Linked DNA regions of Homo sapiens: region 1 is linked to region 2. Evidence: promoter capture Hi-C in human tissues and cell types (Jung and others, 2019). All regions are on one chromosome and are shown on one strand. The core of a region is centred on a gene start or on the middle of the fragment in contact, and the rest is flanking DNA. Distances in the headings are between cores, read along the strand shown. Region 1 overlaps SFXN5 (sideroflexin 5). Region 2 holds the start of EMX1 (empty spiracles homeobox 1).

Region 1 (4,920 bases), core at 24-2,523, 36 kb after region 2:
CTTCACCCATCAACTGCTGTCCATTTTCTGTACATTCTAAGTATACGCTTTGAGTCCTAAGTCCAGGCTATATCCTGACCCTCTAAGGCTGCCTCCTCCAGGAAGCCTCCCTTGATATTCTTAGACCAAATCCATTGCTGCTGCCTCTGTGTCCCCAGCACATGCTTTTATCTCCATCCCATCCCCAGGCACAGGCTCATTTGCACTCTAAACAGGGGTGACTACAGTAGTCCCCTGCCCCACCCCACTGTGAGCCGCTCCAGGCAGCTCGGTATCCCTATGCCTTGTGCACAGTAGGTCCTCAGTAACAGCTGAGTTAAGTGACACTGAAGTGCCTCGTGGGCAAGAATCCTGTCTTACACTTTTCCGGCTCCCCTGTGCTATGTGTTCCCAGCAAGTGCTCAGACCACACCCCGCCCCCTACCATTTTGGAGCTTTGCACCATTCCTGGGTGCCCTCTGGTGGACCAATCTCAGAATCATTCTCTGTCCTCTGTCTTCTAAGCTTTGAGGCCTCAGTTTCCCCACATGTATGATGGGAAGATTTTCTAAGATCTCCTGGTGCCACGAGGATTATATCACAAAATGGATAGGATGGCCCTTTGGAGGCTTAGAAAACCTGCGTGATGCTGTGTAAAGAGGACAGCACCCAGGGTCCCCACACTCAGCCCCAGCCCCACTCACTAAGCTCACAGGGCTGAGCCTTGCTGCAGGCCAGGCATGTTCCACTTTGCATGTATTAATGCCTTTAATGGAAGCTCTGCACAACCAAGCCTTCTCCCTCCCTATCCTGGATTCAGCTAGGTGTCCTGGAAGGTCCTGGAAAAAAGAACTGTGGGGGAAAGGCTGTCAGGCAGCCCCGCCGAGGCCTGCCACCCGGGCATGTGTACATGTTCTTGCGTGCACGTGTATGTGTGCGAGCCTGTGTGCACGCGCAGGTTTGGGGTGGGGGTGTGGGGAACAGGCAAAATGACAGGTGGCGTTGGCGTTCCTGGGCTCTGAGCGGCTTTGCCATTCCCATCCATCCCTCCTGGGGGGTCCTGTGGGCAAACTCCAAGAAAGCAGCGGGCGGGGAGGCAGCAGATTTCTGACGGCAAAAATAGCCCACTTTAGAGTTCAGTAGGGACTGATTAAACCAGTAAATGAGAAAAACCCCAAACAAACATCTCCAAGCAAAGTAGGAGATGGATTTGAGACTGGAGGGAAGGAGGCCCCTGCTCTGGGAGACGCTGAATGCTGCTGTAGACTCAGGAGGGATGCAATGTGCCCTAGACATTGTCTCTGGCCTCGCATCAACCCTGGAAGAGTGGGAGAAGCAGGGACCAACAAAGTCAAGGTGAACCCAGATGAGCCACGCTCTGTACTAGGTGTTGATAAAGGGCACCAGTTCTCTGCCACAGGGACACCTTGTGTCATGGAAGGGAGAAAGGTCTACTGTCCTAAGGGGGAAGATGGAACACAGAAAACACACCACCAGAGCCTACACAGGTGAGGTGAGACAGATCTTAGTGGGGAAGATCAGGGAGGACTTCCTGGAGGAGGAGCCATTTCTAGACCAGCTTGAATGTGGACTCACATTCCAGCTTATTCCCAGCTCTTCTCCATTCTTGGTTGGGGGTCCCAATACTTTCTCAAAGAAAGATAAGCTGGGGGGACTTTGCTTCTGGTGGCTCACAGCTGTTTAGCCAGGCTGGTTCATCAAAACCACCATTTTCATCAGGGCTGGTAAGAGGGTAGAGATAGTGGAGGTTCTGGTACCCACTGAGGGTACCCACATTTTTGCCCATACAGGGAGGGTATGCCTCTCTGTTTCTTAACCCTGAAAGCTGTAAGTGGGGAGGCAGGAAGGAGTATGGGGTGGCTGAGGTTGGCCTTCCTGCCTCGTCTACCACATGGGTGTGGCCTGTAAGAGCCACCCTCTGAGGCCAGGACGAGACAAGGCTCATAACGGGCTGAGGACATCGGGGGAAGGCTTTAGACTTCCTCAGAACATGGCTTCTAATCCCCAGAACCCTCTAGAGCTGAGGTGAGTAGGGGCTCAGCTGAGAGGGAGGGACATGGGGAGTTCCCAGGGCTGACATGGGAGGCTCAGGGCAGGAAGCCCTGGCCCTGGGAGACTCTTAGGCTGTCTTTTCTTCTAGTTGAGGTGCTTGGCAAAAGCTAGAAGGGGCAGGAACAGGTGGTGGGGGTACCGGGGGAGGTCAGTTCTCTGCTGAGGCTTCAGGGAAGGCAGACGGCAGATGCCAACAAACCAACAAGACAGCCAGGAGGGAACAGGCCCACAGGAAACAAGCCTCCTGGCCAGTGAACCTCACTCCTGCCCCCAGGGGCCCCTGCAACAGCTGAGGCAGGGAAGAGACACACGCTCATAGCCGCCAGCCCCTACAAGGGCGCCCCAGGGCCCTCTCCCCTGCCCGCAGCCCCAGCCAGGAAGCACACTACCCAATCTCTCATCCCCACCCCAGCCCCCACAGCTGCAGGGAGGACAAAGGAGCCAGTGAGGGTCTAGGGGCCATAAGACACGTTCCCAGGAAGGCTAAGGCCCTGCCCACTTGCCGTGCCCAGACATGGCTCCCAGAGGGTGGCTCCCAGAGGGCACACCCTTGCTGCAGGCCGGGCACCTGAGGGGCAGCATGTAACTCAAGTGGACTCACTCAGTCCACTGTCTAGCACCAGGGCCCTGTCTTGAGTTTTCACTTCCCTAATCCTACTGGGAGAAACTTGGTTCTTACAGGAAGAAACTTAGTTCCAACACCTCATCTTCCAGCTGGGGAAACTGAGGTCTTTGAGGTTAAGACCCAAGGTCATATGGAGAGTTGAGGTAGAGGGATGCCAGCCAGAGGGGCAGAGGGCAGGCCTTGGGGCCACGGGACAGCCCCTCCACCCCAACATCACCTAGGGATGGGTTCGAGCTCCCGGCTGCCCCCCTGCTCCCCGTACCTCACTCATCCACAGACAAGCCCCACCTTCTGTGGACACATTTCAACCTCACCAAATCAGCTAATTATTGACAGTTGGTGAAGAGGAGATTTCACTTTTTCCTCCTGTTAAACTGCTCCTAATTAGTTCCCTGTCACCACGGCTGGCTCGCTCGCCCGCCCGCCGCCCGCCCGTTCACGCAGTAATCCCGCTGCACAGTGCCTCATTAACCTTTTGCTCCTCTCCTGCCGCCTGCCAACAAGATGAAGACAAAAACAGATTGTTGAACAATGGCTCCGGCTTGTATGTGCAGCCCCGTTCCCCAGCCCCCGAGCTCCCAGGGGAAGAGTGAGGAAAAGAGAGGGGACTGCGGTGGGGGAGAGCCCGAGAGGAATCAAGGAAGGGAGAAAGAGGCACAAAGAAAGATTGAAGCAGAAACAGAGGCAGGGATGTGGGGAGGGGCCTTGGCCAAGGTACTGCTTCTTGCTCCAGAGAGACATGAGGTTCATTAAACAGGATTGGAAGTGCTCCCAGGTAGGGAACACCGGCTGTCAGAGTTAGAGGGACATTTGCCACCACCCACTACAGCCTCTTGTGGTAGCCAAGCCCGTGTTCCTGGACACTGGACCCTGCACATCTCCCTCAGGGAACCTGAGGCCCCAGTGTATGTCTGTGTTGCAGTGGGGAGGACACAGAGGACCCCATTTGCCTGGAATCCAGAGCCCCAATCACCAAAGGGGGCAAGGCCAGAAAGGCCACCACAATCTGGCCCTACCACAAGGGAGGCACCCAGCACCAGCCCCACCTATAGCGGCCCCGGCAAGCTGCCGCGCAGCCTCTGCTTTAGGTCCATCATGACCTGTGCTGTCACCTGACAGTTCTTGTTTATTGAGTTTTGTCTCCACCACCAGCGGGGAGATTCACTGAGACCACAGGGGTCCTACGTGGCCATCCTGGTAACAAGAAAAATGGGAAAGTGCCCAGGCTCCATGGGGCAGAGAGCAGATTCTGGGTGTGATGGGCCCATCCATGTTTGGGGACAGGCTGGTGGGGCAGGCCTACAGCAGTAACCTCCAGATCCACCAGATCCGCCAGGGCAGACCCTGTACTCCCTGCATGGGCAAGAGGACTGGGGTCCAGAAGGGAGCCCAGGACCTGTTCCCCAGTTCTCACGACATGAGGTTCCCTGCCCTACCTGTTGGCCCTTTAGCCTCCCTCCAGCCCCTCCACTGCCCAGCCCCTTCCTCAGCTCTGGGTTGGAAAAGACATAAACACTGATTCCAAAAGGTCCCTGTGAAAACGCAGATTTCCTGTGGAGGGGAGGAGGGCTGGGTGAGGGCACTGGGATGTTCCTGCTGATAAATTAGTAGCAAGCAATTTGGAGCCCAGAAGTGGGCCTCCTCTTTCTATAGTGAGGTGTGGGTGGGCTGGGGAGGGTCACAGAATTCTTCTGCCTGGGTACAAAGCCTGCTCCATCGTCAACAACTTTGGATCTTGGACAACGTACTTAACCTTAATGTGCCTCAGTTTCCTCATTGGTAAACAAGGAATATTGATACCTACCTTGGAGAATTCTCAGGATCCAGGCCCCCATTTCTCCACCACAGCCAGGTAGCCCCCTCTACTCACTGGACCCAGGGACTCCATAGAGGCCATGCCTTCCCGCCTTGGGCTCTGGGCATTCCTTCCCCATCATTGCCCTCTCTCCAAGCCCCCCAACCTCCATCTCACAGTTTCTTTGCTGTTCTCCCACAGTTCCCCATCTTTGAGCTCAATCATCTGAACAAAGAAGAAACTGAATACCATGTTGCCTCCTAGACTGCCATGTCTAGCTATGCCACCTAAGTCTCCTCCACTCCTAGTCCCCTCTGCACTCACCCACTCTGGAGACAGCCCCTCCTCTTTGAATCGCCCAAGTCCTCAGCTTCCATGAAGTTACTCCATCTGGGTTCTCCCTGTGCCCTTGGCTGCTTCTTCCCCTTCTTGATGGTTTTTCTTCCTC
Region 2 (4,802 bases), core at 1,365-3,864:
ACTCCTATCACCCAGCGCATTCCAGCACCCCCTCCCCCTCCCCCGGGAAGTCTGCGACTGCATCCTCACAGGGATGGAATGGGAGTGGAAGCTAGGCCAGGCTGGGACCCCGGGGCTGTCCCAGCCCAACCAAGACGGTGACCAGACTCAAGTTACTGATCCTCCGCTGTTTCTTCATCTGTAAAGTGGAGTTAATGACAGACAGCTGGATGTCAACGTTTTTTGTTGTTTGTTTTAGAGATGGGATCTCCCTGTATCGCCCAGGCTGGAGTGCAGCGGTATGATCACGGCTCACTGCAGCCTCGACCTCCTGGGCTCGAGAGATCTTCCTGTCTCAGCCTCCCGAGTAGAAATGTCAGCATTTGAATGCCTCACAAGGGAAGGTGGTGTAATAAAAGGTCTATTGATTTAGATATGAACAAGTATACCCAGAGCCACACGAATGAAAGGAGGTGGCCAGTGTAGATGCAAGTCTAGGACGGTCGGTAGATTCCAAGCTTCTCTACCTGCCCAGTTAAACAAGTTCGTGGCCCCTGGCCAGCCTCTCGGTGGGGGTCTGCGACAGAACGGGTGGGATTCATTACCAGGCTAGGAGCGCAAGGCCCTCGGGCCGGGTTCAGCTTGCTGGGCTCCTGTCTTGTCTCAGCCCCCAGCACTTGCTCTGTCACCGCAGAGCACAGGCCCAGGCAACGTTTACCCAACTGAACCCGCATCCCTGTGGGAACCTTGTTCCAACAAAATCCCGTCGTTGTCTCCTTCCATATGGAACGAAAATCTCCTTCTGTACCTCTGCCCAGCTCCGCACCCCCGCCCCCTTAGAGATACGGCCTGGTCGGGTCCTGGTCCCCCCCTCGGCGGCGCTTCCACTTTTCCCAGACTGAGGGTGGGGAAAAGGAGGAGGGGGAAGAAATCAGAGGAGGAAAAGTCGGGAGGTAGGGGAGCCGGGAGACAGGAGAGGGGGAAAATAAAGAGCCTGAGACACAAACGAGAGGAAAAGACCATCACAGAAAGCTGGAAATCTCCGGAGAGGCCAGCGAGAACCCGCGCTCCCCACGGATTCCATCATTCCTTCCGAAGGCGCCTCTGCGGTGTCTCAGCCGTGCCAGGCCCCGGGGTTCCCAGGACGCGGAGGAGTGCTGGGTGCGGCCGCCTCGCCTCCCCACCCCTGGCCGCCCCTCCCCACCTCGCCCAAGGGGGCCGGAACGGCGTCGGCGCGCGGGGGCTTTTCGGAGCAGTCGAGTGGAAAATAGACTTTAACCCGCTTTGTGGCGGCCGGGGCGCCCTGAGCGCTCTCCAAACCACGGCTCCCGGCGCTCAGGCGGGCCGCTGCCAAGACCCGGCCTGGAGTCCCCGCAGAGTTGCGCGGCGCACGGACCCCGTGGCCTTGGGGCGTCAGGAGGCCCAACCCAGATCTGCGCGCCCAGGCAGCGCTCAGGCCGCTAGAATGGACCCCGGCAGCGGCGAGGAAGCGGAACTCTCTGCGGCTCCCTCTCCGCAGTGCGCCGGCAAGGTCCAGGTCCCAGCCTCCCCACCGCCGCCCGCGCCCTCCTAGGCCTCGGAGCGGCGCCTTTCTGCGGCCTCGAAGGTGGGGTGGGAAAGTTTGGGGAGTCCCGGCTCTCACAGCCTGTCGTGAGAACTGCCCCCGGGGAATTCGTCCGCCGTACGGAAAAACTGGCCGGAGCAGAGTCGTCCGCGGTTCCGCGGTCGCGGGTGGAAGGTGAAGGTCGAGGGAGGTCAGGCTGCTTCTGCGTGTCCTGACGGCTGGCGTGTTCTCTTGAGATGGGCTCGGGCTACTTGGCCAGCTTCAATTTAAGCCACAGTGTCTCCGAGGCCCTGACCTGGTCCGGCCCGCCGACACTTGAGCCCCCAGAGCCTCAGAGAAGGCGAGGGGGTGGATCTCCCAGTGCCGAGGCCCGCCGTCCTGGTCCAAGCCGGTCGCGGCACCGTGTCTGGGCACTGGAGCTGCTTCCAGCCCCGCGAACAGCTGGAGGGTGGCAGTGGGACCGCTCCGGCGGCTTCTCCCGCGCAGTGCCCCGCCTGGCCCCTTGTGAAGGGAGTGAGCGTCCCCTTTCCAGAGCTGTCCCCCGTGACATCCAGAAAACGCGAAACCTCAGGAACAAGGTCGCAGCTTCAGACCGCGGCCCAGGAGGCCGATGGTGGGTGAGTGGGAGAGTCCCGGAGAGCAGGGGGGCAGAGAGCTGGTTTTCGGGAAAACCAATGTGTTGGACCCCAAACATCCACCCTCCGCTCGGATCCAAGTTCTCTGAGAACTGAAACGACATCCCGGGACGAATGGGAGAGTTAGGCTGAGCTACACACCGGGGAGGGGAGGGTTGGAGTTTAGCCCCAAGCCCTTCGGACGCCTTCTTCGGCTCCCGCGTGGGTTGAGACGGCGGCACGGCCACCAGACTCAGCTAAAGGGCGGAGTCGCGAGGAGAAGCCAGTGGCGAGGGGAGGAGGAGGCCTGGATCTCCCCGCGAAGGCTCCAGTCCGGCTTTTGCCTCCGACTGCGGGCTCCCTCCCCACCCGCCGTCCCTCGCCCCGCCCCGCCCCGCCCCCCACCTTGGGGCAGGTGAGCGGCGGCCAATGGGCGAGCGCGGGGCAGGTGCCCGCTAACTCGCGCCTCGCAGCGCTGGGCGGCCGGGGCTGGGCAGGGCAGTGCGGGGACACCGGGGGCTGGGGTCGGTCCCAGCGGGACTCCGAAAGGAGGGAGACGAGCTCAACCCTCGGGCCTTACTGGCAGCTCGCAGCCTAGCACGGAGCCCGCGCCTGTGCGGGCGCCTGGAGCTGCCCGCTCCGCCGCAGCAGCCGCCGCGCCTGGCCGTACGCTGTGGCCGGACCCCGCGGTCGCTCGCTCACACACCCCTCGCCGCTCCGCGCCTGGCTCGCCCGCGGGGGCCGAGCGCGAGCGGGCGGGCGGGGGAGGTGAGGGGTGCGGGCGGGTGTGCATGTGCCTGGCTGGGTGCACACCCCGCAAGGCGGCGGCGCCAGGACGCGGAGCGCTCCCCAGAGCCCGGCTGCCTCGCACAGCTCCCGCGGCTGCGACCATGTTCCAGCCCGCGGCCAAGCGCGGCTTTACCATAGAGTCCTTGGTGGCCAAGGACGGCGGCACCGGCGGGGGCACTGGCGGCGGGGGCGCGGGCTCCCATCTCCTGGCGGCGGCCGCCTCCGAGGAACCGCTCCGGCCCACGGCGCTCAACTACCCTCACCCCAGCGCGGCCGAGGCGGCCTTCGTGAGTGGCTTCCCTGCCGCGGCCGCCGCGGGCGCGGGCCGCTCGCTCTACGGTGGGCCCGAGCTCGTGTTCCCCGAGGCCATGAACCACCCCGCGCTGACCGTGCATCCGGCGCACCAGCTGGGCGCCTCCCCGCTGCAGCCCCCGCACTCCTTCTTCGGCGCCCAGCACCGGGACCCTCTCCATTTCTACCCCTGGGTCCTGCGGAACCGCTTCTTCGGCCACCGCTTCCAGGGTGAGTGTCCACGCTGTGCCCGCCGAGGCGGCCGGCCGGCGCCCGTGCTGCGGCGATGCGGGGGAGGCTCGGGGGCGCGCGGGGCTGTTTAGAAGTTACTGCCGGGAAGGCTGCAGGTCCGCGGAGGTAGATTCCCAGGCAGGGAAGAGCTGTGCGGCATCCACCCGCGCCTTCGCCGCGTAGGTCTCCCTCCCAGGAAAGCAGGTGGAGACCTCCAGGCTTTTCTAGAAAATATACCAGTTCGGACGCAAGCCCAGGCGCGTCCTCGGAGCCTGTGCTGGCCCTCGCCACAGCCTGCCCAATTCTCTCTCCCAGCTGAGCCAGTCTCAGACCAGAGTACAACTCCTCCCGCTCTCCCTCCGCCCGGCTTAACCTCGCACCACGCTTCTCTCGCAAGTCCACCACCACCTCCGAGACCTCAGCCTTCGCTGGCGCGTCCGGGCGGGGGAAAGTCCATTCGCGTGCCCCAGCTCTGGGGGAAGCAAGGGCAGCAGGGAGGGCGAATCGGAGAGTTAATGTTCAGTGTGGAGGGCCTGGCTGTCTTGGGATGTTTCTCGGCAACCTTGGCCCGACTTCTCCAAGTCACACGTGCCTCTCCTACCCAAGGTGGGGAAGGTTTGCAGTAAGCAAACTGGCTTCCGCCGTTGCTCGCCGCCTTCGGGAGGGAGCCCACCCGGCTGCTGGAATACCGAGGACAGTTTTCCCGGGCAGGGGGCGGGGGCAGAGGGCTTTTAAGGTCGTAGCCAGTCCGAACCCCGGAGTTTGCATCCAGCAATCGGCTTGCTAATAAAGATCCTCCACTGGCCCTACACACACACACACACACACACACACACACACACACACGTTTCAATTATTTGTCTTTCCCGGAGAAAAGAGAGTTGCATTTGTTGGAGTTCGTTTTCTTCCTTGAAATTTGTTGGAGTTTGTTTTTTTCTTTTCTTTTTTTTTAAATTTTATTTTAAAGAGTGGCCTTGATTTGTACAGGCATCACTTTAGTTTCCAGTTTTATTTTGTTAGTGTAGACCAGACCACAGCCTTGTGAGAAGGGTCTATGGCTCAGAGCTAGGTAACCCGGCTTTTAGAGAAACAAATGAAAGGGACATGGCTGGAGCTTCGGCTCCAGGAGCTAATGTGACGGTCTGTAGTCTAGGTCTACAGTCAATTAGATGTTTGGCACAGTTGTTTAGATAATAAAATGAAAATTATCTCTTGACACTTTGACTTTCACAGAAAACCGCTTTCCCAGGTCCCGATTTGTCAGGCAATTTTTTCAGTCCCACCTGGCCAATAGATGCTGACCTGGCAGATACCACAAAACCAGAGAATGTAAT

Evidence for each region. Contacts are between HindIII fragments. The study calls those that stand out against the background at their distance.
Region 1: a contact is called between a fragment that was not itself captured here and the fragment with the promoter of EMX1 in region 2, in 1 of the 25 tissues and cell types used here (H1 embryonic stem cells).

Annotation. Positions count from the first base shown.
Region 1 is chr2:72,952,184-72,957,103 of GRCh38, forward strand. The region is part of intron 13 of SFXN5 (sideroflexin 5); the gene reads right to left. Among named protein-coding and RNA genes, the nearest start is that of EMX1, 37 kb to the left of the region's middle. RefSeq lists an enhancer at 1-412 and a silencer at 1,806-1,975. The HindIII fragment of the contact is 8,875 bases long and covers 1-4,920 here.
Region 2 is chr2:72,914,905-72,919,706 of GRCh38, forward strand. It overlaps EMX1 (empty spiracles homeobox 1), which reads left to right and starts at 2,615. Exons shown (of 3, transcript NM_004097.3): 1 at 2,615-3,468. The coding sequence starts at 2,949. RefSeq lists silencers at 1,101-1,270, 2,411-2,830, 2,901-3,020 and enhancers at 1,362-1,979, 1,980-2,596. The HindIII fragment of the contact is 9,258 bases long and covers 1-4,802 here.